Linked DNA regions of Homo sapiens: all the other regions are linked to region 2. Evidence: promoter capture Hi-C in 16 types of primary human blood cells and fetal thymus (Javierre and others, 2016). All regions are on one chromosome and are shown on one strand. Each heading gives the region's core, a stretch centred on a gene start or on the middle of the fragment in contact. The rest is flanking DNA. Distances are from core to core; before and after follow the strand shown.

Region 1 (6,318 bases), core at 3,352-5,851, 350 kb before region 2:
CATGAGGCTGAAGTGGGAGGATTGCTTGAGGCCAGGAGATCAAGACTAGCCTGGGCAATATAGGGAGAACCCATCTTTAGAAAAAAAATAAAAATTAGCAGGGTGTGGTGGTGCATGCCTATAGTCTCAGCTACTCAGAAGGCTGAGGCAGGAGGATTGCTTGAACATGGGAAGTTGAGGCTGCACTGTGCTATGATCTCTGCACTCCAGCCTGGGTGACAGAGTGAGACTGTCTCTAAAAAAGAGCATTGGGTTGGGGAGCAGTGAGCAGATTACTTTAATAAAGTATGCTGGGGAAAACTGAAGTCTGAATGTGGAATGGTTGGAATGGTGAGGTGGACCAGAAGACAATGGTGGGTTTCCTATTCCCAGGCTGGTGGAGAAAACCTCAGAGAGATAACACCTAAACTGAGGCTTGAAATAGGACATCTTCACCAGGCAACCAGGGTGAGGGCAGGACTGGAGGAATCCAGGAAAAAGGAATAAAGGCACAAATGTTCCCTTAATTAGGGGAACTGCAAGTACTTCTGTGTCACTGTACTGTCAGGGACAGACAAGAGGTAGAAGAGTGGTAGAAGAGTGAGATGTGAGAGGCAGAGAAAGACTAGGCTGTGGAGGACTTTCAATGTTAGAGCACCTCCTTGGGTCTCACTTAATGGTCTCCAAACCATCTTATGTGTTTGCACACCTATCAGGAAAAACTTGATCCTATACTCTCAAAACATATATACTTATTCATTTATGCATTATATAAATATACTGCTGAGCAAATATATTAGGTACATTATGAAGCATATAAATATTAATCCCTAAAGGATAAGGAAAAAGCCCTAAAATAGAGTATGAATATTATTTTTCCACTCCCTTTCGATTTGTCTCCAGCATCCCCTGGGACATGTGCACCCCTCTTTAGAAATAAGTGTGGGCCATAATAAGGAGACATGGCAAGGTGTTAAGCAAGGAGAGGTGATTGTGAAGTGGTAGCAGACTGGAGGGGCCGGCTAGGTGGCCAGGAGCTGAGTAGGCAAACAGGGGCAGAATCCACGTAGGAGTTGCTGAAGGTGGGAGCAGGACAGTGGTGGTGGATCTGAGAGACTATCGAAAGAGAAACAACCTGACTGTAGTGGAGAGTAAGTAAATATAGATGGTGTTTACCTTTTTTCGGCTTGTTAGACCTGGTAGATGACAGTACCCTGTTGAGGTGATAAACAAGGGAGCTGGAGCAGATAAAGGGAAAGCTTAGTGGGGCCTCAGTAGCCAGTATCACACTTTAGTGTGAATTACAAAAAGGCCCCTGGATTTGGGTAGAGGGACTATCAGATTTACCAGATAAGTGAGCCCAGCACAAGCAGAATATCCACCCTTGTTCAGCCCCGCTTGTCCCTGTTAGTTGGGAGGAGGTTCTTGTGCCATCAATAATCTGTACAACCTCAAACAGCAGCCCTGGGGTGGGCCTAGGCTGTGCCATCAAGAACCTCCTGGCACTTCCCCTGGAGAAGGATTGGGTTAGAGGAGGGGATTGGTATGGAGTCAGAGCCAGGGAATTTGGGGGAGAAGTGCTGAGGCAGTCAAGGAGGGCTCCCTGAAAGCAGGATTTCCATATGGGTAAGATTTGAAGGGACCAAGATCATTGCATGTTGGGACCCAGGGGAATCAAGGACCAAAAAGAGCAGGCGTGGGTTTGGACTATGGGGGGCTAACCAGAGAAGCTGGCAGTCAAATGATGTAAGGGCCAAGTAGTCAGGCAGAATTTGGATTTTTGCTTCAGTTGAAAAAAACACCAACAGATTTTTTTAAAAAAAATTAAGCAAAGCAGGCTGGAGGAAATGTTCTTGGGCAGACTCTGTGGAAAGTATGCTGGCTGGAGGCAGCACACACACAGAGGCCCCAGTGTCCTGCTGCCAGACCAGCTCCACCCTACCCCCCTCACCCCCCAGGAGACCTTGGGGAGGTGCCAACTCGGCCCACCCCCACACTAGCCCAGCCACAGCAATACTCTGTTTCAACTGCCTAGAAACACTTCTTCCCTGAGTGGTCTCTTCTGCCACCAGCCTATCTTCCCCCAGTGCTCCTGGAAGCTGCTGCCTTGGTCAAGCAACTTCCTGATACCTGTGCCTCAGTTACTCCACTTGTAAAATGGAAACTGTTGTACTTGCGTCCTACAGAGTTGCACTAACTTTCTCTAGGACACCCAACTATCACTCCTCAAAGGCCAGCTCTGATCCATCCTTCCCCTTTTCAAGATTTGTCCAAGACTCTCCATTCTCCACGGCAAAAAGTCTTTGCTGCTGTATGAGCTCATTGAGTCTTGTGTTCAAAGCCCCCTATTCTCTAGGCCCACTCAACCACCCCAACTTTCTCTCCATACCTCCCTTCCCTGCCCCTCCACTCCAGTCAAATTTAACTACTTGCTGTCCCCTGAAACACATTCTGTGTTTTCCTGCTGTCTGTCCAGGATGTCCACTCCACAAATAATTGTTGAGCACCTCCTCTGTGCCAAGCCATATTCCAGACACCAGGGGTACAGCAGCAAATAAAGTGGTAAGAAGTCAGTCAGATTGTGGATGTCTTCTAAAGATGGAGCTGAAAATCCCTGATGGATTGGATGTGGATTGTGAAACAAAGAGGAGAATCCAACATGACTCTAAGATTTTTAGCTGAGCAACTATGTCCTGAAACAAAGATACCAGAGGAGGAGCAGATTTGGGAGGGGAGAGTTGTCAGGAGCTCAGTTTTGGATCTGTTCAGCTTGAGGTGTCTATGGAACATCCTAGTGGAGATGTCAAGTAAGAAATTGGTTTTTTGTTCCTGTGACAGTTTACTGAGAATGATGATTTCCAATTTCATCCATGTCCCTACAAAGGACATGAACTCATCATTTTTATGGCTGCATAGTATTCCATGATGTATATGTGCCACCATATGTAACTAACCTGCACATTGTGCACATGTACCCTAAAACTTAAAGTATAATAATAATAAAATTTAAAAAAAAAGAAATTGGATGGGTCTGAAGTTCAGGGCACAAGTCCACACTGGAGATACATATTTGGGAGGCATCTGTATATAAATGGTATTTAAGGCCATGGTGCTAAATGACATCACCTAGAGAGCCAATGTAGAAAGAATAGAGGACAGAAGGGGAGAGGGAGGGAGGGGAGAGGATAAAAGGTTGACAACAGAGCCTTGGAGTGTTCCAAAGATTTAGAGGTTAGGAAGAGAAAGAGCCAACAGAGGAAACTGAGAAGGCATGGCCAGTGAGGATTATTTATCCATATCCTCCCTGTCTTTCAGGCTTAGCTTCAAGACTACCTTCTCTAGGACCCTTTCCTGAAGACTTGGGCAAAAGTGTTCTCTCCCTTCTTTGAGCTTCTTTTCACTTTATTACCTTCCTTAGAGAAATGGGGAGAATGGGGGTAAGCAAGTCTGCTTGTAACTCATCAGTCTCTGAGCTCCCTGAGGACAAGGCCTCCTCCCTAGTCAGGCCCAGAAGACTTTGCAACAATTTGCACACTTCTTTCACAATTTTTACCACTTTTACCACCCACAGTATTTACTTAATATATTTTTATATTAATATGGCCATATTATTTACCCAATATATTTTTTCAATAGATATACTTTCTGAGATGATCTGAGTTAGTTTTATTCTGAGCAACAATATCTATGAGATCATGGGTTTAATGTGCTAGTTGTAATTTAAGAAACATTACTGTAAATACATAACAATTATAATAAAAATATTCGGTTATATCGTACCTAAAATTATGCTGTGTGCCAAAAGGTAGAATTCATTCAACACTTTGGGAAACACAAGACTCTAACAACCAGATCCACCATATGCTGTGTGGCCTCTATTTCCCCATCTGACAAATGGAGATAATGATAACTACTTCACTCTGTTATCTCCCTCTCCTTTCCTCTTCTTCTCTTCTTGCCGCTCACACTGGGGCTTTATGGCACTGTGTTGTTCTTTCTCTTTCCCTATCTCTACCCTCCTCTTTCTACCTCATGTGTCTCTTTCTCTGTCTCTGACCAACTCTTTATTTTCTCTGTCTCTACTGTCCCTCCTCTTTCCTGCCCCATTAGGACCATCAACAATAAAGTCTACATTGCAGAAGTCAAAGAGAAGCACCAGGCAAAGAAAATCTATGAAGAAGCCCATCAGCAGGGAAAGACAGCTGCTCATGTAGGCATCAGGTAAGGCCCCATCCAGTCCAAAACATGACTTAATCATCTTAGCTGTGTGATCAGGGGAGATGCACGTTCTCTCTGGTCCTCAGTCTCCATCTCTGCAGAGTGGGGACATGACCTCTACTTCACAGGATCATGTGAAGATGATGTGAGTTAATGAATATCAAAGCCTGTAACAGGGTGGGTGTTCAATAAATGGAAATTTACTTCCCCATTTCTACTTTTCTACTGTCAGCAGATTGTGGCTTATTTAAGAATTGGCACCTTCCAGGAAGGTTATATGCAAGTGAGATTTTTCTAAATTGAATTTTGTTTCCTGAGTTCCATTCAGCGGGCAGAAATGTATTGTCTTCCTTCAGTGTTTCCTCCCAGCTTCCAAGAGAGTTTCATGGAGCAAACACTTTAGCTTTGGCTCCAGCAAACTGAGTTACTGCCATATAAACAAGCTCCTTCAAAAGCATAGGGGAGAGGATAGTAGGAGGGTCTATTTGAAGGGGCTGAGGCATTGTATGTAAATTGAAAACTCTTTTGTAAAATGAATCATTAGACCCTAGTTGGTCTGTTATATATTCAGATTTTGATGGACTAAGTTCCCTTAAGGGTGGACCACCTGTGAGATAATTTCTCAAGCAGAATATTTAGGAGGCTGAATGAGGGAGGGAGGGAGAGAGAGACTGATAAGTGGATGCATGGATGACGGACCATGAGCCAGTGACTCAGTTGAACCAGAAGCCTAGTCAGGTCGGCTGGGACCAGGGTTGGGGGGAGCAAAACTAGGTCATCTAACAGCCCCTGTACTCCTCTGAAGGTCCCTTTCTCTTCCCACCATCCTCCCTTTCCTGCCCAGGGACCGGGAATCAGAGAAGTTCCGCATCTCCACCAGCCTGGCAGCAGGCACAGAGGTGACTTTTTCCCTGGCCTATGAGGAACTGCTTCAGCGGCACCAGGGCCAGTACCAGCTGGTGGTGAGCCTGAGGCCTGGCCAATTGGTGAAGAGGCTGAGCATAGAGGTTACAGTGTCAGAAAGGACAGGCATCTCCTATGTGCACATACCACCCCTGAGGACCGGCCGTCTGCGCACCAATGCCCATGCAAGTATGTGGGCAGCACTATGGGTCACCCATCAGACTGGCCTTCACTGAATGAAAACCTTATCGATTCCACTGGGTTTCCCTCTAGTGCCACTTCTGCTCTGTACTCACTGCCAAGTTCCTTCCTGATTCAGTGAGAAGAGGGCATGTTTGAAGGTGAAAATATTTGGATTTTAACCTTGGCCTGGTCCTTACAGGCTATATGACCTGGCACATTAGAAACTTCCCAGACTCTTGATTTCCCTAAAAAAAAAAAAATCAGTGATAAGGGAGGGTTTGTTGGGTGGGCTAATGAAATTAAATCATATGTTAACCATGTTGAAGGCTGTAGAAGCCACACTGGCCAAATCACGCTTTTCCCTGGATCCCCACTGAGAATGGCAGGAGAGTGAGTGCACAGCAAGTGCAGGCTCCCTGGAGGACACCATCTCAGGCCCTGGAGGGAAGAGAAGCATCCTGCCTCAGAAGTTTGCTTCAAATGTCACCTAGAGGTTTTGGAAGCCCAGACTGGCTACATCAGAATCACAACATGGGCTCCTAGAAATGCAGATTCCTGGAGCCCAGCCTTCAGGGTCTGGTTCAGTAGCATGGGGGTGGGGCCCAGGAAGCTGTGTCATCAACCAGTCTCAGGGGACATTGACATCCAGCCAGGTTGGAGAATCACGGAGCTGGCCTGCTCACCTCATCTGAGAGATGAGAGGACAGGTGCAGAGAAATCCCTGGCTCATGTGGCAGCCCCTCCAAAGCTGTTTAGCATTGGAGGTCCCAACTCATTCGACTCTGTTGACCCAGAGAGGCACTGGGGTGGACAGTGGATGTAACAGACACAGACAGACACACAGACTGGATCCAAATCCCAGTGCTGACACTCCCCTAATGTGGGACGATCAAAGCCAGTCACTCCATTGCTCGACTTCACTTTTCCCATCTGTAAAATGGACGAGATGCCATCTACAGCTCAGGACCACTGTGAGACTTTGAGAGAATTCCTCCCTCCCAACTACGTGGTGCAGAGAAGATTGCACGATCATTC
Region 2 (6,708 bases), core at 134-2,633:
AGGGGGCTTCCCACACCCCAGCTTCATTCTCTACCACTCCTCCACCCCCCACGCACACACGCCCATACTCCAATACTGAGCTCCCTGCTACTTTCCAAATATAACACATTATACCCTCATGCCACAGAACTTGAGTGTTGCTCTCTCTGCTTCCCCCACCTAGTTAACTCCTTCTCACTAAGACCCAGCCCAATTCACCACCTCCACTAAGAAGCTGTCTCCCCATCCTGTTACCCCATGCACCCTGAGCTCCTCTTTATCAGAAAATCTATCAATGTTGTAACTATTTACGTGTGTGGATCCTCAATGGATAGTATACTTTCTTGAGAGAGATGACTCTGCCTAATGTCATCTCCAAAGCTAGAAATTGAATGAAGATTTTTTTAAAAACCATACTATGCAACAGGCCCTCTACTGGGCCTCTTGTTCTTGTATATCCCTCAAGACGAGCCTACAGTGTAGATCTTTGCTGTCCAAACAGCCACAGGTGGTTACTGAGCACTTGAAATATGGCTAGGCCAAATCGAAATGTGCTAAAACTGTAAAATACCAGATTTTGAAAACTTAATACTAAAAAATGTAAAATATCTCAATGTTTTATACTGACTACATGTTGAAATATTTCATACACACCGAGTTTACTAACATTGATTTCATCTGCTTTTTGCTTTATTAAAGTGGCTACTAAAAAATTTTAAATTATATGTGACTAGCATAATATTTCTACTGTACAGCGCTCTGGTGGATACTTTTATACGCATTTTAGAAACTAGGAAACTGAGTCTCAGGGAGGTAAACTGCCTTGTCCAGAGTAATCCCACGAGTCAGTGGTACAGCCCGTAAAGCACTGGAATCCAGGATTCTGATTCTAAAAGCTGAATTCATTCCACCTCACCTTTAGGTACCAATCCACAACTGCTCGAGAGGAAATGCAGGCTCTGCGGGATGGGGCTCCTCCTCTCCACACCCCCACACAGGCGGGTCGCGGCGCCTCACATTCACTCACCATTGCGCATGAAGTAATCCTCCACTGCACCCCCCAGCCACTTGGCCTTCTCCTGGCTGTGCACACCCCCGAAGCCATTCTCCACAGCGATCTGTAAACACAGGTCCAAGCCCACCAAGTCAGCTTGGGAGCAGACCTGGAGTAGCCTGGAGGCCGCTTACGCCGCCCAGCCAACTCCTCTTATGCCGCCTAGCCAAGCCTCAGGCACCTAGCCCAACCAACTCCTGTTCTGCCCCGGGCCCTAACCTTGACCTTGCCCTGGCCCTGGCCCCACTGACCTGCAAGGCCGGCCAGGCCTCCAGGGCCGCGCAGACCCCAGCCCGGAAAAGAGCTCGCGCATCTTCTGCAGCGCCCGCCATTATCCGGCCCCAGTCCACGTGACGTCCCGGCGGCCCAATCCCTCTGTAGCTCGGCCCAGGCAGAACGAGACGCAAGCCGAGCCTGAGAACACAGGATTCTCTTTTCCGCAGACCTGGCAGCAAGACTAGAGCAAAAGAAAAATCTGTCAGAGCGATCGATGACACCACCAGAGTTACTCACTTAAATCAAAGGACACCAGACCTGAAGGACGTGTGGGGCCATGGTTTCCGGATCCGTGGGTACTGCGGAGGAAATATGTGGGGAACTTATTACAGATACAGATTCCAGGCCCTGGGGCAGAGGACTCAGTGAGTATAGCCTTAAAAATCTGCATTTAAAAAAAGCATCCTAACATCTGTATAGAATACTGCAACCAACAACAGTAAAATACAATCAGCTCTCCCTATGGGGGGCAGTCCACGTCCGTGAATTCAACTAACCTCAGATGGAAAATATTCAGGAAAAAATTGCATCTGCATTGAACATGTGTATACTTTTTTTCTTGACATTATTCTCCTAAACAGTACAGTATAACAGCTATATACATAGCATTTACACTTTATTAGGCATTATAAGTAACCTGGAAATTATTTATTTATCTATTTTTTTGAGACCGAGTGTCACTCTGTGGCCCAGGCTGGAGTGCAGTGGCGCCATCTCGGCTGACTGCAACCTCCGTCTCCTGGTTTCAAGCAATTCTCGTGCCTCAGCCTCCCGAGTACCTGAGATTACAGGTGCCCACCACCACTCCCAGCTAATTTTTGTGTTTTTAGTAGAGACAGGGTTTCGCCATGTTGCCCAGGCTGGTCTCGAACTCCTGGGTTTAATCCACTTGCCTCAGCCTCCCAAATTGCTGGGATTATAGGCGTGAGTCACATCTGGAAATGATTTAAAGTATACAGTAGAATATTCATAGGTTATACGCAAATACTATGCCATTTTATATCAGGGACTTGAGCATCTATGAATTTTGGTATCCTCCGGAGGTCGTGGAACCAGTCTCCCACGGATACCCAGGGATAACTGTACATGTTTTTCTGAAGTACACAAGAACATTCTCCAGAACAGATCATACACTAGGCCATACAGTAGGCCTCCATAGATTTAACAGGATTGAACATACAAAGTATGTTGTCTGACCACAATGGAAAGAAGTTAAAAATCAGTAAAAAGAAACTTACAAAATTCACAAATATATGGAAATTAACACACTCCTAAGCAATAAATGGGTCAAAGAAAAAAATCACAAAGCAAATTAGAAAACACTTTTAAATGAATGAAAACAAAAACATAAAAAAATGCATGAGATGCAGCTAAAGCAAAACTTAGAGGGAAATCTTTAGCTGTAAACATGCATATCTAAAAAGAAGAGCCGGACATGGTGGCTCATGCCTGTAATCATAGCACTTTGGGAGGTTGATGCGGGAGGATGGCTTGAGCTCAGGAGTTCAAGACCAGCCTGGGCAACATAGTGAGACCCCATCTCTAAAAACAATTTTAAAAATTAGGCCAGGTGTGGTGGCTCACGCTTGTAATCACAGCACTTTGGGAGGCCAAGGCAGGCAGATCACTTGAGGTCAGGAGTTCGAGACCAGCCTGGCCAAGATGGTGAAACCCCGTCTCTACTAAAAATACAAAAATTAGCCAGGTCTGGTGGCAAGCACCTGTAATCCCAGCTACTTGGGAGGCTGAGGCAGGAGAATGGCTTGAACCCGGGAGGCGGAGGTTACAGTGAGCCGAGATGGTGCCATTGCACTCCAGCCTGGGAAACAGAGTGAGACTCTGTCTCAAACTAAATAAATAAATAAATTTGAAAACTAGGCCAGGCATGGTGGCTCACACCTATAATTCCCGCACTTTGGGTGGGCAGATCACCTGAGGTCAGGAGTTTGAGACCAGCATGGTCAATATGAACAAACCCTGTCTCTACTAAAAATGCAAAAGTTAGCCAGGCATGGTGACACACACCTGTAATCCCAGCTACTTGGGAGGCTGAAGCACGAGAATCGCTTGAACCCGGTAGGCAGAGGTTGCAGTGAGCTGAGATCACTCCACTGCACTCCAGCCTGGGCGACACAGTGAGACTCTGTCTCAAACAAACAAACGAACAAACAAAATTAGATGGGCATAGTGGCATATGCGTGTAGTACCAGCCACTCAGGAGGCTGAGGTGGGAGGATTGCTTGAGCCTGGGAGCTCAAGGCTGCAGTGAGCCGTGATTGTGCCACTGCACTCCAGCATGGGGGACAGAGCAAGACCCTGTCTCAAAAAAATAAAAAATGAAAGAATGATATCAAATTAATAACCTACACTTCCACTTCACAAAACCAGAAAAAGAAGAGCAAAGTAATCCCAAGGCAAGCATAAGAAAGGAAATAATAAATAATAGAACAGAAATAAATGAAATAGAGAATTGAAAAACAATAGAGAAAAGAAAAAACAGTGAAGCCAAAAGTCAGTTGTTGTTTTTTGTTTGTTTGTTTGTTTGTTTTGAGATGGAGTCTGGTGCTGTCACCCAGGCTGAAGTGCAGTGGTGCAATCTCAGCTCACTACAACCTCTGCCTCCCAGGTTCAAAGGAGTCTCCTGCCTCAGCCTCCAGAGTAGCTGGGATTACAGGCATATGCCACCATGCCCCGTTAATTTTTGTATTTTTAGTAGAGACAGGGTTTCACCATGTTGGCCAGGCTGGTCTTGAACTCCTGACCTCAAGTGAGCTGCCCACCTCAGCCTTCCCAAGTGTTTGGATTACAGGCGTGAGCCACCGGACCTGGGCGGTTATTTTTTTTTCAGAGATGAAGTCTTTTTTTGTTGCCCAGGCTGGAATGCAGTGGCACAAACATTGCTCACTGCAGCCTCAAACTCCTGGGCTCAAAGGATCCTCCTGCCTCTGCCTCCTGATTAGCTGGGACTACAGGAATAGGCCACCATGCCTGGCTAGTGTGTGTGTGTGTGTGTGTGTGTGGTTGTGTGTGTGTGTGTGTGTGTGTGTGTGTGTGTGTGTGTGTGTGTTGGGAGGGGGTGTCTCACTTTGTTGCCCAGGCTGGTCTTGAACTCCTGGTTTCAAGCGATCCACCTGCCTCGCCTCTCAAAATGCTGGGATTACAGGTGTGAGCAAATGCAACTGGCCAAGTCAGTTATTTGAAAAGATCAACAAAATTTACAAACCCTTAGCTAGACTGAGGAAGAAATAAAAGAAAGAAGACTCAAATTACTGAAATCAGGAACGAAAGAGGACGTATAATTACCGACCAGTCAAAAAAGACCACATATTGTATGATACCATTTATATGAAATATACAGAATAGGTAAATCTATAGAGACAGAAAATACATGAATGGTTGCCCAGGGCTTGGATGGGGAAAGAATAGAGTGTGACTTCTAAATGGCTTCAGGGCTACTTTTGGGGGTGTCGAAAATGTTCTAAAAATTAGACGAGGTAATGGTTGCTGTTATGAGCTAAATTGTATCCACCACCCCCCAAATTCATATGTAGAAACCCTAACCCCCAGTACCTCAGAATGTGACTGTATTGGGAGATAGAGCCTTTAAAAAGGTAATTAAGATAAAATGAGGTTGCATGGGTGGGCCCTAATCCGTTATGACTGATGTCCTTATAAAGAAGGGGAGATTAGAACTCGGTGCAATGGCTCAGATCACTTGAGGCCAGGAGTTCGAGACCATCCTGGGCAACAAAGCAAGACCCCCCATCTCTACAAAAAAATTTTTTTTTTAATTAGCTGAGTGTGATGGCTGTAGTCCCAGCTACTCAGGAGACTGAGGAGGGAGGATCACTTGAGTCCAGGAGGTTGAGGCTGCCGTGAGCCATGATTGTACCACTGCACTCCAGCATGAGTGACAGAACAAGCCCTGTCTCAAAAACAAAAAACAACAAAATATAATAATAAGAGGAGATGAGGACACAGGCAAAGAGGGACACCAGAGAGGTGTACACACAGGGACAACTATGTGAACACACAGTGAGAAAGCTAAGGAGAAAGCCAAGGAGCAAATCAGAAGAAACTATACTAAAAGCCATTGAATTGTACACTTTACTTATTTGTTGATTTATTGATGAAAGTATTTCCTTAAAATTAGAAATCTAATTTACAAATTACAAATTTTTAAAAACTGACAAATGTCACAAACATCTTCTAACCCAGAAAAATAAAATATTACTTTGTTGTTTTGTTTTTGTTTTGTAGATGCAAGGTTTCACCATGTTGGCCAGGCTGGTCTCAAACTCCTGACCTCAGGTGAGCCGCCTGCCTCAGCATCCCAAAGTGCTGGGATTACAGGCATGAGCCACCACGCCCTGCCAAAATAAAATATTCTTATTAATTACATGACTCACCTCTCTACTAATTTTTCTACATTTTTTGATATCAAAGAGTTTATAGAACTCTTCATATGACAAGTATTTTATATTTTCTAGAGAGAACACAAAGAATTCAATTGATTTCAATTCAGTTGAGTAAAATTTTTTATTATTAGTATTTTAGAAAAGTTTCAATTTCACAACTCATTATTAGTAATGTACATTTTAAGATTTTTGTCAAACTTGGGAAAATTTCTAGTTTCTTTTACATGTGAGCTGTAAGATTTCAGGTTATTTTAACTTCTCTTGGCACAGCGACAAATCTTAAACATTCTTCAAATAGACCAGGCTCAATAACCAGAGACCTGGAAGTGGCCTGTGCAAGTGTGGGGCCCTGATGCTTAAGATTGATTTGTTCTACGATAAATCTATCTCTGTGCAATGCCCAGGGAGAAAGGAGCACAGGGACTCATGGGAGTTCAGCAGAGGGTCCCTGACCCAGCCCTGGGGGCTGTGGCAGGCCTCTCGGAGGAGATGACACGTGAGCTGATTCTTAAAGTTTGAGTAGAATTTTGCTGGGTGATGGGGGAGTGTGTGTGTATGGGGGTGGAAGGTGTTACTGAAAGGAGGAAAGAGCCTTCTGTGCAGGGGAAAAATGTGTGCAAATACACAGAGGCAGGAAGCAACATGGTGTGTGATGATAATAAGAGCAGTTCCAGACTGAGAGAGAACCTCAGGGGCATAGCCTCCTCCGTAGCTCCAGAGACTCATTTTTTGTAGAGTCAGCAATGTAGATTGAGTTCAGAGAGGCCCAAATGAAGATATTGAAAACCTCAGTTGAAGTTCCCACAATCTGAGGCCTCAAACATACACAGAGAGAATAGACCTGCTAGATATCCCCACACATGGAGTCCCTCTCTGGGATGTAACAAACCAAGGCCTCTGAATGAACCCTTAGCTTTGAGACTGAAGTCCAAGGCCGAGTATCCTAAGTACCAAACGTCTTCACCTTTTTTGTGACTTGAA
Region 3 (6,191 bases), core at 969-3,468, 260 kb after region 2:
CCTAGATTATAGTTGTTTTAATTTAAACTAATCCAAACGTGAGCTATCTCATACAAGGTTAAAAAAAAAAAAAAAGGCACACATTTGCTTGCTCTTCTGACTGAACATTTTAAGGTAGATTCTTTATTCATGGCCATTCTTTCCACTTTGTTTTCACTGCTACCACCCAGGCTTTTAAGGACTTTTTAACCTCGTTGTTATTAACCTGGTTGCTGGCAATAGTGACCACATTGATGGAATATTTACTATGTTTTAGGTGTCGATCTGTGCACTTCTTTTAAAAAAAATTACCTCATCATCCTCGCAATAACCTATGAAAGCAGTATTATCCCTGTTTTCCAAATGAGGAAACTGAGGCACGGGCTTAGAAACTTGCCCAAAGTCACCCAGAGATAAGTGGCAGGGCTGAGATTTGTGCCTATGTGGTCTTCCTCCAAAGCTCATACTCTAAACAACAGTGCTGCTCTAAAATGAATCTTTCTAAAGTGCCACTGTGATTAGATCATTTCCCCACTCAGCTAAACTCTTCCTTGGCTCCTGGGTAAAGACGTGTTCAGGTCATTCACTTACTTTTTTATTTGAGTGCTTGCTGTAGGCTAAGTACTAGCTGCTTGCTGAGGACTGAGAGGTAAATAAGGGGATCCCGTCCTCAAGGAGGACAAGGTTTAGTGAAAGAGATAATAAATTGCAGATACTGTGGGCTAATTGCAAGTGATGAAAAATGTGGCCCCTATAGGGGGCATGGTTAATTTTGAGTAAGGGAGTGAAAGTTGGGGAAGGCTTCACCGATGGTGCTAAGCCATGAAGAGGGCTGTAGATAGTTCAGATAGCGGACAAGGGTGTGGAGACCCGAATAGCCAGTTATGAGCTCTGAATAGATTTTGATTGGAGGTTGGCAGGAGAGTTGAACACTTGAGTATGGGTTTGTGGTTTCCAAAGTTTTTTTTGTTTATATACCCCATCAGTCAAAATCTTTAGAGAAGCAGCCCTTAGTATATTTTTGTCATACTTCACTACACAGTCTCATTTTTAAAATCCCAGCAGTTAATAAAAAAGATGGATTGAATAGATGGATATGTGATAAATCAGGTATAGTAAAAATAGTAGAATCTCAGTCACGGGTATTCAGATGTTCACTGTAAAATTATCTCAACTTTGCCATGTGTTTGAAGTTTTTCATAATAAAATGTTGGGGAAAAATTCCCAGCAGTCCTCTTTAGTCCTTAGAAGCACTCTTGGGGAATGTATAAATCTTATTCCCTGTGCTAGATTATAAACAAACTCTGATCTTTTTGTATTCTCCATAATGTCCTGTGTACTTTGGGTGCAGGGTACATTGTTTTTTTCCATAGTGAATAGGTCAATGATCCTAAGAGAATGGATTGTAGAAGTGACTTTTTAAGAGTGTAGTGTGGCTCTTAATATAATGGATTTAAGACCAGCTCCAAAATTGCATATCTAAAGTGTCTGTCGATGTTACTAATGAGTGAAGTTCTCTCTCGGTTCTGGTCAGTGACTTTTTTGTTGTTACTGGAGTGATAAAGAACTCCCTGGATTGTAGCACAGACTTGAAAGTATTGATTAATAACCGATTGTGGTTTCCCTTTTCAGAGGAGTGTTCTACTGTCTTGAAGGTGGGAATTTTTCACTTGGATGATCTGCATGCCTACTATTTCTTTTGACTGAATGTCAGTGCCTCAGAACAAAACCCACTACTGTATCTCTCCCCTCTTTGGTTTTGTTCTTCAGGCTAGACCACAAGATGGGCCTTTATTCCCAGTCTCATTTTCATTTGTGATACAGAAAGTAGAGGTGGAAGGATTAAATAATAGATAAATTGCTGGGTTGTCTGTTTAGCTTTAGACAACTTCGGACTTCCCATGAAAAGATCCAGTGTGTATTGCTGGGATGAATTTTTTGATTTGGTTGGTTTCATTTATATGCTCTGCAAAGCTTTGTAAATGATAATCAGTAGAAGGAAAATTAAGTAAACCCACAAATTGCTTGCCTGATTGCTTCCTAAGGGTCTCAGAAATAAAGCAACCTAAAGCAGTTTTAGATTGTGATTCAGGAGATAATTTAGGGTGATTAAGGGAATGAATGCTTTGTTTTAATGGTTACTGTGTAATTAGAAAAAAATGATCAGCACATCAGACTCACCATTTCACAGCTATACTTTTTTAGAATGATTATGATTACATAAAATGAGTTGATTTAAAGAAAGCTATTAAGTTGCAGTACGTGGATATGGCAGAAATCATGTTGGTGGCATATGAATAACCAGACTTTGAGAACAGATACCATTTTGTGCTTTGGTTCTCTAGAATACGATAAAGCAATGGCTGCTATGCCTCCTGATTGTTTACTTACCATTAGTCATAGACATTCTGAAAAGTCATTGACTTTTCTAGATGCTCTAGTCGTTGGAAAATAATCAAAATAATAATTACTTCTTAGGCAACAAGTTGTATATTAAAAGCTTTTAAAATATCTCATTTAATCCTCAAGAGCTTGCAAGGTGCATGGTATTCTCCCCATTTTACAGTTGAGTAACTGAGGTAACCAAGAGGTAAAATAATTTTTCTTTGTTCTAAGTACTAGTAAGTGGTGGATAAAAATTATTGTTCTAGGTTTATATTGCTCAAAGTTTACACAATCCCACCATCCTGTTTCCTTCATTTTATACATTCTTGTGTATGATCGTACACTGTTATTGGCTAGACAATATGCATAGAAGACAATCATAAGTAGATTTTTTGAGCACTTAGTTTGTGCCAGCATTGCTAAATGTACAATACTGCCAGTACAAGGCAAATGTGTAAGCTAAGTGCCAAGTAAGTGAGTCATACAGTGATGTTATAGGAATTCAAAAGTAGTAATCCCTGTCCTTTCTACAGTTTCAGTCTCTGCCTCTCTGGTTTCTTTCACTTACAGCATGCACAAATAATCTTTGAAAAACAAAAACTTCCCCTTTATTTTCTAATTCCTTCGAGCCATTATCTTTATCTCCTTTCTTCCCTATTCACCATTATTCTTAAAGAAGCAGATTGTATTAATTCCCATTCCCTAGCCTAGTGCTACTTTATATCTGATGTCACCACTCTGAAGCTGCCACATGCATTTCCATTCTTAGCCTTTCTTGGTCCTCTTTAAGATCATTAATATCAAGCCATCCTATTCTTGAACTATCTTCCTTGGATTTCATAATTCAGCTCACTTCTGATTCTCCTTGTAACCCTCTAGTTCTTTCTTCTCTTTTCCTTATTCCTCTTCTGCCTGCTTCTTTAAATGTTGGTGCCCTCAAGGCTTCTGTCCTAGTCATATTCTTCTGCTTTTGTTTCCTGAGCAATCTCATCCATTATTGTGGCTTTAAGTATTAATTAAATTCTGATGATTCCTATTGCTCTGTCTCTACCCTCGACCTCTCTCATGAGCTTTCAACACATCTTTTCAGCTCTCTACTACTTGATGTCTTTTAGGTCACTTAAACTAAAAAATACCCAAAATGGAACTCATTATGTTTCCCCAAAACTTGTTTCACTTCTGGTACTCTCTTTTTCTATGAATGGTGTCTTTCATCAGTTTCAAGCCAGAAGCTGTGGAGTCCTCAATTCTTCACTCTCCTGTCACTTCCCACATTTACTTGGTCATCGGATCCTTTGAGTTCTACGTCAGAAATGTCTCCTGAGTCCAGCTACTTCTGTCTGTTTCCACCCCCATTGCTTTAGTTCAGGCTGCCAAAATTTCTTACCTGAACCAGGAAGACAGTGTCAACTTGTTCCTTTACCATAACACTCTCCGGACTCCATCTGCCATATTGCTGCCAGAGACACGATTCTGAAAACAGAAGCTGACTCTGTTATATGCCCAAAGGTGTATTTGCCCACCCTACCGAGTCCAAACTTCTCAGCATGGCAGACAGCGCCCTTCACAATCTGATCCCAAACTCTCTCCAGACTTACCTGGTGCTCACCTCTGGCCACCCCTGTTCCAACCATTCTATATTTTCTTAGTTTCCTAGACATACCGTGTCCTCTCTCATAGTATTTTTCTTATGTTTATCTTGACCTTTGCATAGCAAATTCCCCCTTATTCCTGCTCAAAAGTTATCCTATAGAATCTTTCCTAGCCAGCCTCTGTCAGCTGTGGTAGATGAAGCCTTCCCTTTACTACCAGAGTACTCTGTTCTTACCTCTCTCATATTTTTTTCTCTTTCATAGTATTTTCATATCGCATAATTCTCTTTTAAATGAGTTCTAAGAGGGCGGAGATTTGCTCTAGGACTTGACATATATAAAATAATGTTTGCCGTGAGAGAGATTGGTTGATTTGCCTTTACTGACTGAATCACTACAGAGGGCTTTACAGGTCAGATGAAGAATTTAGAATCAGTGCTATACAATGTTATATGTTAATTCCATCTAAATAAACTCAGATTGCAAACTGAATTGCCAAACTCCTTTTACTCAGAAGTTTTGTAGCTACTTAGCAATGCACTTATAGAATATATTCCCCTTTGATGGTAGTAATAATAGCTACCACATGGGCGAGGTACCTCACCAATATTCATTTAATCCTCACAACCACCCAACAGGAGAGGTATTAATCTCTATTTTTTCCTCTACTCCTATGACAGATTAAATCTCTTTTTTTTTTTTTTTTTTTGAGACAGAGTCTTGCTCTGTGGCCCAGATTGGAGTACAGTGGCATGATCTTGCCTCATTACAACCTCCACCTCCTGGGTTCAAGCAATTCTCCTGCCTCAGCCTCCCAAGTAGCTGGGACTGCAGGTGCGTGCCACTACACCCAGCTAATTTTTGTATTTTTAGTAGAGACGGGGTTTCACCGTGTTGGCCAGACTGGTTTCGAACTCCTGACCTCAGGTGATCTGCCTGCATCAGCCACCCAAAGCGCTGGGATTACAGGCGTGAGCCACCACGCCTGGCCTAAATCTCTACTTTTTATAGCCAAAAACCAAAAAACAAAAAAACAGGCTCAGTGTAGTTACTGGCCCAAGGATACACTGCTAGAACATGGTTGGACCAAGATTTGGACCTAAAGATATTTGACACCAAAATCCTTCATCTTTAACATATCTCAAAACAGTATAATTGCGTTTTTATAGTTATATTTTAATAACTTTTTCTAGAACATTTTTTCCTATATTTAGTTTGTGTAGCATAATGGCTGACAACACAGGCCTTGGAGCCAGACTGCCTGGGTTTAGATCCCTATTCTTCTAAGTACTCATTATGTAAGCTTAGGCAAGTTACTTGCTCTGTGCCTCAGTTTAACAATAATACCTACATCACAAATTTTGTTGTGAGTGTTAAATGATTTAAGTAATATGCTTGGAACATCATATGGCATGTAGTAAATGCCATATAAATGCCAGCTACTATTATATTGACTAAAATATCTTGTAGCGGGGCATGGTGGTGCGCACCTGTAGTCCCAGCTACTTGGGAGGCTGAGGCAGGAGGATTGCTTGAGCCTGAGAGGTTGAGGTTGCAGTGAGCTGAGATCGCACCAATGCACTGCAGCCTGGGCGACGGAGTTAAGACCCTGTATATATTAAAAAAAAAAAGTATAAAATATCTTGTGCACCTAGTAGGTTGGACATTGATCACCTCACTCTCATGCTTTAAGCTTAGCATGGCATGCCATGGCATGCCTTCATGATCTGCCCACCATTATCTAGCCTAATTTTACCCCATTTTTCTTATCAGGACAATGCTTTTCAGTTCAGTTAATATTTTTGAGCACCTGTTCTGTGCCAGACACTGTGCTAAGTACTATGAACAACGGAATTAATTTATTCAGCCAATGTATTGGACTCCTGTGTGCCAGGCAAAGTTCAAGATTGTGAGGATACAGCAGTGAATAAAACAGATTTCTGACCTCATGAAACTTGTATTCTAATGGAGAAAATAACAAACAAGATAAATAGGCAAAATATGTTTTGTGACATAGGAAATGCTGTGGAGAAAATGAAGTAGGGAAGTGAGATAAGGAGTGTTGAAGTCAGGGGTACAAAGCATGGTACCCTACCCTTCCAGGAGCTCATAGTCTATCTAGTAGAGGAGACAAGTAAGAAAATACTTATGGTATAAGTCCCCAGGATCATTTCTCCGGCCCTTGTCATTAGGCCCAGGGACATAACCAGTAGAAGTGGCAGAAACCAGGATTTG
Region 4 (4,956 bases), core at 2,457-4,956, 370 kb before region 2:
CATGCTCTTGACTTGCCAAGCTCAAGGAGCTCTCCAATTACCTTGCAGGCAAACTTGAGGACTTTCATCTTGCTGGTCTCATAGTAAGAGCGCAGGCCCCAGAAGAACTCATATTCAGGGGGATTGCTATTGGGGACTCTGGCATAGTCCAGGTACCTTGGAAAGAGAGGTTCAAAGCCTTTATTTCTAAGACCATTCATGGCCTACCCATGCATAGACTGGACAGGCTCCAGATGGCAACATCATCCACTAATTACTACAGTCTTTCTTCCAATATTGAGCCCTGTCCCACTGGTCTTGCCCAGAAGCCACATAGAGGTGTTGGGGGACGTTTGTTCATAGGGAAGCCACAAGTTTGACGCCCTCATCACAATGACCCCAGATTCCTGTTGGGTGTGTTGTAAACAGAGGAGCCATTCTTTGGGCCCCCTGCTCTGAGCACACCCCACTGCAAGTGTCTTGGCCTCAGCCTGGCCAAGCCCAGAAAGGTCCACCACAGAAAATGACCAGAAAGACTACAGAGGAAGAACAGCCAATAGCAGCATGCTTCACACATGCTGAATTCCTGACCCTTTGTGTGTGTTTCTGTGTGCACATGCGTGTGGCTGTGTGAGTGTTTGCATGTCCTCCAAGGACCAAGGATAGGTGAGCTTTGGCCAGAAATTCAAGAGGACTGGGCTCCAGGCCCATACCAGCTGTGGGCCATGCTCAGATCTCCCTTCTCGGAGCCCCAGGTCCCTCAACTGTAAAACGGGGATGGGATGACAGCTGCAGGGTAGTTATGAAAATGAAATGAGATGTACAAGTCAACTCCCCAGCATGGTACCTGGTTGCCTGAAGCTACCATTCTATGTCATTTCTTTACGGAAATTAATTTCTATGAAGCTCTAGTTAGCAGAATAAAAAGAACTAAGGCTTTGGAGCCAAGTTCTAAACATAACTCTTCTACTTGCTACCTGTGTAACCCTGACCAAATGACTTCACCTCTCTAAACCTCAGTTTCTGCATACGTACAATGATGGTAATGATAATCCCTCCCTTGCAGAACTGGTCTCAAGACAAATGTTGAGGTATATGTAACAGATCAGGAAACATGTGCTGCTCCTGTTTCCCATCACCGCCCAAGGAATAATCCCACCTGCATACATGCAAATATGCAAATACATACACACATAGACACATGCATCCATGCACCACGGCTTTATCACTCAGTTCTGAAATAGGCCAAATGCATGGGACACATGAACACCAGACAGAGATACTTACTTCTGCTTCACAAACTCATCAGTGATGAGCTTCTTCACGTCCCCAAAGAGTGAATGATGTATCCTGAGAGAAGAAAAAGAAAAATAAATAAACAAATAAATTCACTCAAGGCTATGGCACTTCCCAGATGTGGGCAGAGGCATTTCCAAGATGGAAAAGAGGTTTCCAGCACAAGAGGGAAGCTCCATAGAAGCCCAAGAGACACTGAGAGAGGGAGCAGAGAGTTCAGGACCATTCACCCATCATCCACCCAGGTCAGAACCCTGGGCCCTCTACCCAGTCCAGCACCCCACCCGCTCCACCAGACCACCAGACTGATGCAATCCTAGGACCGTCCTCTCTTGCCAAAGGACAACACGGACAGCAAGCGCTGAGAGAGCCCAATCATACCCAGGGCGCAGCCCCAACTTGCGCAGCACCTCCCAGATGACAGCTGCGAGGGGAGGCAAGAGGAGACAGGGACAGAAATTGAACACATGGAATCTAGACCACAGCCACCCATTCAGCTGCAAGCCCAGCCACTCACCCTCACTGGACCGATTTCCATTCATGAAGATGATGCTAAGAAGCACCATGAGCAGACCCAGCTTGGGTGAGTCCTTAGTCCTAGAGAAATAACAGGACAGAGAGGTTTATGTTCAGCAGCCATCTGCAACAGACACACCAGCCAACTCACTAGGCTAGCCTCTCCCAGATTCCTCAGATACAGAATTCTACCCAGTCTCTGCTTCCAGCTCTATGCCACCCTTGGCAAGGCACTTAGACTTGCAAGCCTCAGTCTACTCTTCAGTAAAATAGAAAAAATCATATTTTCCCTTCCCTGGGTTTCCAAGAAGATGGAAGAATGGCTGCCAACCTGGTACAACACAAGCACTCAGTCAATGTGAGTCCCTTCTTTCTGTCCCAGAACCTTCAGCCCCACTGACACTCCTGCGCTTCATGCATCCTGATCCACCCACACCAGGAAGCCCTCCTTGAGAACCACTCTGCCAAAGCCAGGCCAGGCACCCAGTAGGAAGAGGCAAGCAACGACAGGCCTGCTTTCCTGGGAAGCTTCTACAGAGACAGCAAACCTGACAGCAGGAATGTCCCACTCCAGGCTCCTACACCCTCCAGTCAATCATAATCAGGTGCCACCACTGTAAGCAGGGCTCCAACTATGCATAGGAACTGGGACGGGGCTTTTGAGACCCTGTCTTTCCTGACTCTCTAAGAGGATGGGGGAAGTAGGACAAAGGAGGAGTAGCAGCACATGGCCAAAGCAGAAGCCCCCCACACCTCAGCCCTTTCCCAGCTTACGTTCCCAGTATGCCTGCATCAGTGGGCTCTAAGGTGCTGAGAAGAATGTACAAGTGGTCATTCTTATCAATTTCCTTCAATTGAATCCCAAATACCTGTGGATGGGGAGAACAGCTTGTGAGATGACAAAATTCAGCTTCCGGGGCATGCTGCAGCTCCCTATGTACCTAGGAGTTTCGCATGTGTGAGAAATCAGTGAGATAATACGCACAAAGTACATAGCTAAGTGCCTGGCACCCGGTAAACACGCTGCAAATGTACTATTGTCATCATCATCTTTGTGGTGAGTGGGACTCTAGGGAGACAGAGAATGGGGAATGAAAGGGAGAGGTGAAATCTCAAATACATGGCAGGAGCTGCCATGGACGGACAGAAGCCAGGATTAAGTTGGGTGTCTTGGGTCCTAGCTGCACTTTTACCATTGACTTGCTGTGTGACCCATCGCTAATCTACACCCCTCCCTAGGCCACTGTCTGCCCCTCAGCATAGCGATGGAGCTGGATTAGCAGGTCTCTTTGGTTCCCGAGAAGGGACTTGTACATTTTTGTTCAATTCAAGGCTTCCCCACTGTGCCCATCCCCCAGGGCTGCCCCTTCACCTTCTCCAAGGAATAGCCTGCTCGTTCAATGATTTCGGGGTACACATCAGTGTATTCTTTGATGATGTCCTTCAGCATGTCTGCAAGGGGAGAGTGTTGTGAGCACCTGACTGAAGAGATGCCAGGTGGCCCTGATGCCCAAGCTATAGACTCTTTGCCAACCACACCAAGGGTGGCATAACCCGGTTCTGTGCTTATCAACAGAGATGCTAGCACTGCCAAATCAGAACTTTGGGAGGACAGAGACATAAGCATAAGAGCAGGGGATATCCCCAGCACAATGGTGTAAGGGCAATGGAGGGCAGAGCTCAGGGCAGAGGGAGGATTGGTAGGACTTTACCCGAGCGCTTGATGGGAATCTTCGTCTGGTCTTTAGCCAAAAGGTACTTCACCAAATCATTTGCCTGGCAGAGTAGAAAAAGATGGAAAGACCAAAACAAGTTTGCAGAAAACTTGAGACGATGGCAAAGAAAAGGACAGCCAAGGCAGTAGAAAAGGCAGAATAAAAACGACAGAGTTCTTACCCTCCCTTGCAAAAGGGCCACATCCCGAGGTGGTGGTGCTTCAGGCTCTTGGGATGACTGGAGCTTGGCAGCTCTACGGCGAGCCTTGCCCCTACGGGCTTTAGGTGATCTCAGGGAGAGCAAGGCTCTCCGGGCCCAAGCAGCCAACCGAGTCCTTGATGCCCTGCGGGCCCAAAAGGCTATGGGACCCCTTGAAGCCCTGCGGGCCATTGAGGCCATTAGGGCCTTTGAGACCCTTCGGCCACCTGTGGTTCCAGAAGCCTGACTCTGATCACTGCTGCCATCCTCTTCCCCATCCAGATGCTTCACCTGCATCAACAGAGAGGAAGCTCAACGTCACCAGATGAAGCAAGTGGTCCTTTTCCTCTCCCTATCTCTTCCAGGAAGCACCCGCTAATCCCACCCCTGTAGTAACAGCCTGACTCAATAGATGTTGGCCATGCTGAACCCTGGATTTGTTTCTCACTGACTTCCAAGCAGGTGTTTCATCTGCCTAGCAGGCCAGGAGCAAACCAAGGGTGGGTGGAGGCTGAGTCTTCTTCTCTTTCTGTGCCCACTACTGGCTCTGCTTGAACCATCCTAGACAAGCCGCTTCACCTCTCTGGAACTCAGCTTCCTTCTCCATAAAATTGGGGCTATGAGAATTACTTTCAAGATTTAATGAGATAACCTGCATAAATGTGCTTAGCTCAAGGCCTAATACAGGGCAGCTACTATGTAAACATAAACTGCATTACATTCAGATTGCACCTCCCCATCAGTCTGCAAGCTCTCTGAAGACAGGAATTACATCACATTACTCTCAGTGCCCCCCACAGCCCTGATGAGCACAGGGATCTTTCTAAATGTTTGTAGAACAAATGAATCAACTGAGAGAGGAGTAGAAAACCAAGGGTGGTGACTGCAGAGGTCTTACCTTTCGGGCTTTCTTGGCTTTGACCTTGGGCCGAGTATCCTGATTCTCCTGAGACTGGGCAGCTGCACTCTCAGGCTCAGGTTCATCTGCTGGGGCCTGAGAGGGTGCAGCCTCAGTCTCCTGAGCCTTTGTATTGACCTTTGTATCAGCCACATGGCTGACCTTTTTGGTCTCAGTGGCAGGCATTGTCACAGCCTGCGGGTCAGCATTCTGTTTCTTGGTGTCAGCTGCTAGACTCTTGTTTTCAGCTGCCAGAACCTGGGTATCAGTCAGCTGAGTAGTAGATGAGGCCTGGGTGGCAGGTGCCTCCCGAGCCTCTGGGGTCTTTGAGACCTCTGTGGCCTTTGAGACCC

Evidence for each region. The method cuts DNA at HindIII sites, captures the fragments that hold promoters and counts their contacts. A CHiCAGO score of 5 or more calls a contact.
Region 1: a fragment that was not itself captured here is called in contact with the fragment with the promoter of TSR2 in region 2 in 1 of 17 cell types (fetal thymus); the score reaches 5.2 in fetal thymus.
Region 3: a fragment that was not itself captured here is called in contact with the fragment with the promoter of TSR2 in region 2 in 1 of 17 cell types (naive CD8 T cells); the score reaches 5.0 in naive CD8 T cells.
Region 4: a fragment that was not itself captured here is called in contact with the fragment with the promoter of TSR2 in region 2 in 1 of 17 cell types (fetal thymus); the score reaches 5.0 in fetal thymus.

What each region holds. Positions count from the first base shown.
Region 1 is chrX:54,789,808-54,796,125 of GRCh38, reverse strand. It overlaps ITIH6 (inter-alpha-trypsin inhibitor heavy chain family member 6), which reads left to right. Exons shown (of 13, transcript NM_198510.3): 3 at 4,090-4,200; 4 at 5,042-5,289. Among named protein-coding and RNA genes, the nearest start is that of ITIH6, 5.3 kb to the left of the region's middle. The HindIII fragment of the contact is 6,722 bases long and covers 1,241-6,318 here.
Region 2 is chrX:54,435,079-54,441,786 of GRCh38, reverse strand. It overlaps TSR2 (TSR2 ribosome maturation factor), which reads right to left and starts at 1,383. Exons shown (of 5, transcript NM_058163.3): 1 at 1,285-1,383; 2 at 1,007-1,097. The coding sequence starts at 1,365. RefSeq lists an enhancer at 1,616-1,665. The HindIII fragment of the contact is 25,574 bases long and covers 1-6,708 here.
Region 3 is chrX:54,174,907-54,181,097 of GRCh38, reverse strand. The region is part of intron 1 of FAM120C (family with sequence similarity 120 member C); the gene reads left to right. Among named protein-coding and RNA genes, the nearest start is that of FAM120C, 5.3 kb to the left of the region's middle. The HindIII fragment of the contact is 526 bases long and covers 1,956-2,481 here.
Region 4 is chrX:54,809,861-54,814,816 of GRCh38, reverse strand. MAGED2 (MAGE family member D2) reads right to left here. Exons shown (of 13, transcript NM_177433.3): 3 at 4,604-4,956; 4 at 3,688-3,996; 5 at 3,504-3,567; 6 at 3,164-3,243; 7 at 2,566-2,660; 8 at 1,793-1,872; 9 at 1,657-1,699; 10 at 1,267-1,329; 11 at 42-156. SNORA11 (small nucleolar RNA, H/ACA box 11) reads right to left here and starts at 447; the gene lies at 317-447. The HindIII fragment of the contact is 2,769 bases long and covers 2,322-4,956 here.